2 separate regions of the Homo sapiens genome follow, and region 1 is linked to region 2. The links are contacts of gene promoters, found by promoter capture Hi-C in blood cells and fetal thymus (Javierre and others, 2016). All regions are on one chromosome and are shown on one strand. Each heading gives the region's core, a stretch centred on a gene start or on the middle of the fragment in contact. The rest is flanking DNA. Distances are from core to core; before and after follow the strand shown.

Region 1 (2,804 bases), core at 272-2,771, 990 kb after region 2:
ATGGCGTGATCTCGGCTTACTGCAACCTCTGCCTCCCAGGTTCAAGCAATTCTCCTGCCTCAGCCTACCGAGTAGCTGGGATTACAGGCATGCATCATCACGCCCGGCTAATTTTGTATCTGTTAGTAGAGATGGAGTTTCTCCATGTTGGTCAGGCTGGTCTCGAACGCCCGACCTCAGGTGATCCGTCCACCTCGACCTCCCAAAGTGCTGGGATTACAGGCATGCGCTACCGCGCCCAGCCTGAGAAGTTCTGAAACTATAGAAGGAAAGATCAGAAAAATAATAGGTAGGAAAAAAAATTCATGGTTGGCTTGGAGAATACCCTTGAAGGGTGTTAAGTAAAAATGATAGGAGGCCTTTGTTTTGGACTAAACTCCTGCACCAGGCCCCAATAGACCTGGCTAAAATAAAAATGGAGTCACCCATGCTAAAGTTTCACCTCACCAAATCCAAACTAAGTTGTTACCAAACCCAAGCTAAGTTGTTATCTGACCTTCAGAGAAATCAGGAAAGAGGGATAAGGACAGCCAGTTTCCCAAACAGGCTTGTTTTAATGTTGCATGATAATGAAGCTCCCTCTGTTGTAATCCTTACACAAAAGAAGTAGCCTGAAGTAACTGATGTCAACTAATCAGTTATTTTTCTATTGTTCTGTCTCTCTGTCCTCACCTTCCAAGGAAAGTAGCTTAGAAGTGACCAATATGTCAAGGTCCCATGAGAAGACTGAAAAAAAGAGAAGAAAGAGGAAAGAAAAGAATGACAAGAAAGAGAAAGAAAGAAACCAATATGCTCTTTGTTCTTTGCTTTTGCTTCCTCAAGCTTTTCTCTGTCTACAAAGCCAACCTCTCCTGCTCAGCTCATCAGAACATTCACTCCACTTTCTGGAATGAAGTGTTGCCTGATCCTAGAGTCGCAATAAAGCCAACTGAGATCTTAAAACTAAATTCGTTGTAATTTTGTCCTTTGCCAAGGGGGGAAAAACAACAAAAACTTCCCAAGAGTACCTATATCCTCTTATCACTTTTTCTGGTCTTTTCCTTAGTTTTTGCGAAGTGAAATTGGGAAGGTGGAGACTGTCTGTGCTCACACGTTTCTGAGGGAATGGTGTGCAAGAGGTTACTTGAATCCAAATTAATTGACTCACCATTTCCCACTTATACTAGACATTATTACATCAGTTCTCTAATGTAGCACCATGCCTTCCCCAGTTACAACCCAAAAGAACGTGCTGAAACCTGCGGACACCACACTCAATGCAAAAACTCCAAGTCCCGAAATCCTCCGTAGCCTGTCCCCACCGCCTCCTCGCAAGAGCAGCCTCTTCAGTACTGGGAGTTGTAGTCATTCAGAGTCTTCCTTTCCGGGATGAGGGGCGAGAGCGCGCCTCGAGGAGCTACATCTCCCAGGAGGCAGTGCGCACTACGCCCTTGCTGGCGCCGGGATCCTCCCTCTCTCGCTCCTCCCTTTCTGGGCTGCACCGCTCACGCCTTCCTGTTAGTCCGAGCTGGGAGAAGTTCACTCCGATCAGCTGATCCCAACTGACAACAGGAGAGGAGGAAGCCCGGGAGGCAACGAAGGAGGAGGGTGGCGGAGATGGAGATGAGGATGGATCTGCCGGTGTCCTGAGGAATAGCCTCTGCCCCCACTGGCGCCCTGCGGCCCCCCGACGCCGCCTTGCTGCGGCCGAGCTTCTCAGTGGTGGGATCCCCGGGCCGCGGCGGGCAGGGCAGGGCGGGGAGGGCACGGCCCAGCGCGGGGCGAGTGATCGTCCTGGGGCTCAGGCTGCCCTCGGGAGGAAGGGGGGGCGGGTGCGGCGGGGGTGGGGGTGGGGTGGTATAAACAATGGATTCGGCTCCGGGTTTTGCCGGCGTGGGGGGGATTTTGGGGGACCTTCTTTGTTCTTAGGCTCCGCTCCTGCCCCTCGGGTTGTGGCGGTGGTGTCCGGGTGGAAGGAAGGGTGAGGAACCCCCGGCTGGGGAGAGGTGTCGAGGTGGGGGCCCGAGTGGGCAAAATGTTTGGTTGACATGGCCGGGCGTGAGGTGTACTTTTGAAGGTTGATTTTATATTTTTCTCAATTGTGACAAGTTTGATTTTTGTTTCTGTTTTGGGAGCTGGCTGGGCATGTCTGAGGTTAGATTGTAGTAAATAAGATCCCCTAGTCACTCCCTTCGCCTTCCTTGTTTATCTGAAAATAAGGTTGATAGATTGATTACTGTAGGGGAGGAGTGACTATCAGAAAGGCAGGGCTTTACACCTTGTCGGGGCCTTGGAATGCGGGTCAAGGCTAGGGGGAATTAGGAATATAATTGTCAAAGTGACAAAAGCCCCTTTCTTGCCCCAGTTATCTTTTTTCGTATTTTGAAGTTATTTTTAAGTTAGTTTTTAAGTGACAAAGAGAAAAATTATTTGTTTTGATTCACTGCAGGCCTGGCTTTGCCATGGGTCAAAGTAGAGGAATTGTCTCCTGTTGCTCCTTTTTTTTTTTTTTTTCAGTTAGTGAAAGAAGGGACAGAAGAATTACAGTGTAAAAAAATTGTTTTTAAAGATGAAATTGTTACTATTGTTTCTAAGTTTTGAGTCTTTAATATACATCTAGCTAGAGTTGAAACAATCCAGTTACAAGGCTAACCAGGTCGGCCCAGGTATTTGATAGATCTAAAGTTTATTATTACATTTTCATTAGCTTTGTGAAGGCCTCTCCACTCCTCCCAATTGTGGGATGCATGTGGGGGTGCAGAGGGCTGTCCTTCCAAGGACTACTCACTTAGTGATTTAGATTCTGAATTTAATATCTGAATGAA
Region 2 (3,085 bases), core at 440-2,939:
AAAGTCCCACTTTCACCTTTTGTTCTCTTCAAATTAAGGCCAGCTCCATTCCCAACCCCTCAGCCTGTTATAGCTGTTGATGTCCCTTTCTGGCATGATTTAGGCACTAGTGATACACTGTCTCACTACGACCATCCAGGTATCAGGTCTGAGTGGCTCGAAGTACTTGATGCGACAGGGCATGGTGGCTCACGGCTGTCATCCCAGCACTTTGGGAGGCCGAGGCGGGTGGATCACCTGAAGTCAGGAGTTCGAGACCAGCCTGGCCAACATGGTGAAACCCTGTCTCCACTAAAAATAAAAAAATTAGCTGGGCGTGGTGACGGGTGCCTGTAATCACAGCTACTCGGGAGGCTGAGGCAGGAGAATTGGTTGAACCCAGAAGGCAGAGGTTGCAGTGAGCTGAGATCGTGCCATTGCACTCCGGCTTGGGCAACAAGAGCAAAACTTGGTGTCAAGAAAAAAAAAAAAGTACTTGATGCAAGAAATTAGACACTCTAATAGGACCACTGATACTCACTGTAGAAACAAAGCCAGGTTTCTCAAACAATGGGTCATGGAAAATCCAAGGAATAAGGTCTCTTACCCTTAGTGTTCCTCATTGTTCAAATGTGTACTGTAGAAGCATGGTCAAAATCTGAAAACATATGTTAGTGAGTTCTAGGAATGTGATAAGCCCTTGGCACTTTAAGGGCTAGACTAACTGTGCAGTTATGTAAAAACAAAAAAAAAATACCATAAAAGAATACTTACATTAACAAATGGGAAGAAAAAAGCCACATATAAGTATGTACATTGGGCTATCGTTTTATTAAAAAAGAATACTCCAAAATATAGTAGTGTTTATTTTTGGATAATGAGACTACAGGTGATTTTTGTTTTTTCTTTTGGTACTTCCCATGTTTCCCAAACTTTCTGTATTGAGCATGAATTACTCTCTTAAGTTACTTTACAAACATCTCAAGTTTGGTGCCAACTCTGTGTTCCCATATATGGTGTTGTTGCTGGACACCACGTATGACTCCAACGTGTCCAGAAACCACCGGGGTCCCCCAATAGGGCTAGTAGCAATCTAGCAGCAACTCCAGGCCTGTAAGGGGTTAGTGCTAGAACATTACCCACCTCAGTGGCTCTGATCAGTTTGGGAAAACCTCAATAATTATCCAACTTGGTAAAATACTTTAGGTGTCCCCTTTGAACCAAAAGAGATCTCTGAAAAGGCCCAAGGAACTACTTTATACATCCTCTACACGTTTAAGATAATCTGAACACATAGTAGAGATCTGCCAGACTATGGACATGGGAGCTGTAATCCTCACAAGCCGGGAGAGCCGGGGAGAGGGTCCGAGTGGGCCGGCGCGGGGGGCGCCAGGTTGCCAGCCCCAGACCCGAAATCCCAGGCAGGCCCAGGGAGAGGGGACTCTCGGGTGGCTTCTCCTTACTTCGTGTCTTTGCCTTTGCTCTTGCCTTTCTTTTTGTCCTTTCCCTTCGACGGCATCTTGGCTTCCCCAGGGGCTCCGCTGTCGTAGTTGCCCAGCCGCGGCCGCCCTGGCCAGCTCTGTCTCCAAGGGAACCGGGACGCCGAGCTGGCAATGCCCCACCCGCGCCGCTGACGGCGCGCGGAGAGCGCACGCGCCCGTGACGTAGCCCAGGCGCCGCGGCGCGCGGGGTGGGGCGGAGGTCGCGCCGAGGGCGGCGGGCTGCCGCGCAAGGGTGGCGCGCGCGCGGTGAGTGTGCGAGTGTCGGCGGCGCCGGATCCTCTACGTGGGGCCCGGGCTCTGCGGGCGGGAGGCGGGAGCTGGCAGCCCCAGGCGGTAGCGCTTCGTCCTGCGGCCTGGGTGTGTCAGGAGTCGCTGCGGTCGGGGCGCCCTTGCCTCAGGAGACTTAGATCCCCGCTGATCCGCCCGTCCCGCCGCAGTGGTCTGAGCCGCAGCCCTTTCCCGTGCCGCCCGCGGGTCCCGTTCCTCCCGTGTCTCCATGCCGCAGCCAGCGTGGCCGCGGCTACCTTGCCCTCGCCCCCGCTCCGCTTCTGCCGCTCCCGGCACTGCCTTACTCCTTTGGGTTGCATCTCTTTCCTGGCTTTTCACCCTTGCTGATTCTGTAAGGGATAGTGCAGCCAGCGGACGTCCCAGGCCAAATGTTTTTTGATAGGCAGTCGAGGACTTTCCCGAGGGCGGTGGTTGAGGGCGAGGCTGCCAGCCTCCGAAGAGCAGCGGCACGCCAGGGAGCCGGGCGGGGAGGGGAGTGCTGCCACCGAGGTCGGGAGCAGGGTCCTCGGCCTCACTAGGTCCTGTGTGGCCGATACTTCCTGCCCACGACCGCCCCCCGGATTTCCATTTGCTAATACCGGTCCGCAGCCTTCTTTCCTGAAAGTTGCATAAAGTTGGAAGCTCTTCAACTTGCCTCCCCGACTCCTGAAATCCCGAATACACCTCTGAAAAGGAGTGTACTCACAAGTATTCTCATTTTTCAATGAGAGTCAGTCAGTGAGTCATTAAGGAAGGTACGGTATTCTGAGTGCCAAGCCAATAGTTAGGAGACTTGTGGTTGAAGCTCTGCTCTGTTATACTCCATTTCAAATTAAAAAGTTTATTTTAAATGTGGTTGTAGATCCTTCGTCACCATTTCTCTAGGGAGGACTTAATCCGTACACTCCTTCCCGATGTCTTTGACCTCTAATTACTCCCCTCCGCCTTGTTTCCCACTTGCATAGTTTCTGTTTCTGAATTTCTGTTTCTTCTGAGGGAACATGCCGATTTGGTAATGATAAGCCTTGTAAACTTTTTTTTTTTTTTTTCTGAGAGAGAGTCTTCTGTCACCCAGGCTGGAGTGCAGTGGGGCATCTCGGCTCCCTGCAACCTCCACCTCCTTGGTTCAAGCGATTCTCCTGCCTCAGCCTCCCCAGTAAGTGGGACTACAGGTGCATGCCACCACACCCGGCTAATTTTTGTATTTTTGGTAGAGATGGAGTTTCACCATGCTGGCCAGGCTGGTCTCGAACTCCTGGCCTCAGGTGATCCACCTGCCTCGGCCTCCCAAAGTGTTGAGATTACAGGCGTGGGCCACCGCCCCGGCTGTAAACCTT

The links. Contacts are between HindIII fragments. The CHiCAGO score rates a contact against its expected background, and 5 or more counts as called.
Region 1: a contact is called between the fragment with the promoter of ZFYVE1 here and the fragment with the promoter of ENTPD5 in region 2, in 1 of 17 cell types (fetal thymus). The highest score is 5.1, in fetal thymus.

The regions. Positions count from the first base shown.
Region 1 is chr14:73,025,823-73,028,626 of GRCh38, reverse strand. It overlaps ZFYVE1 (zinc finger FYVE-type containing 1), which reads left to right and starts at 1,521. Exons shown (of 12, transcript NM_021260.4): 1 at 1,521-1,701. RefSeq lists an enhancer at 1,179-1,378 and a silencer at 1,609-1,818. The HindIII fragment of the contact is 5,815 bases long and covers 825-2,804 here.
Region 2 is chr14:74,017,892-74,020,976 of GRCh38, reverse strand. It overlaps ENTPD5 (ectonucleoside triphosphate diphosphohydrolase 5 (inactive)), which reads left to right and starts at 1,689. Exons shown (of 16, transcript NM_001249.5): 1 at 1,689-1,727. BBOF1 (basal body orientation factor 1) reads right to left here and starts at 1,628. Exons shown (of 12, transcript NM_025057.3): 1 at 1,443-1,628. The coding sequence starts at 1,498. RefSeq lists silencers at 1,512-1,761, 1,792-1,861, 1,872-2,011, 2,052-2,121, 2,037-2,331. The HindIII fragment of the contact is 9,186 bases long and covers 1-3,085 here.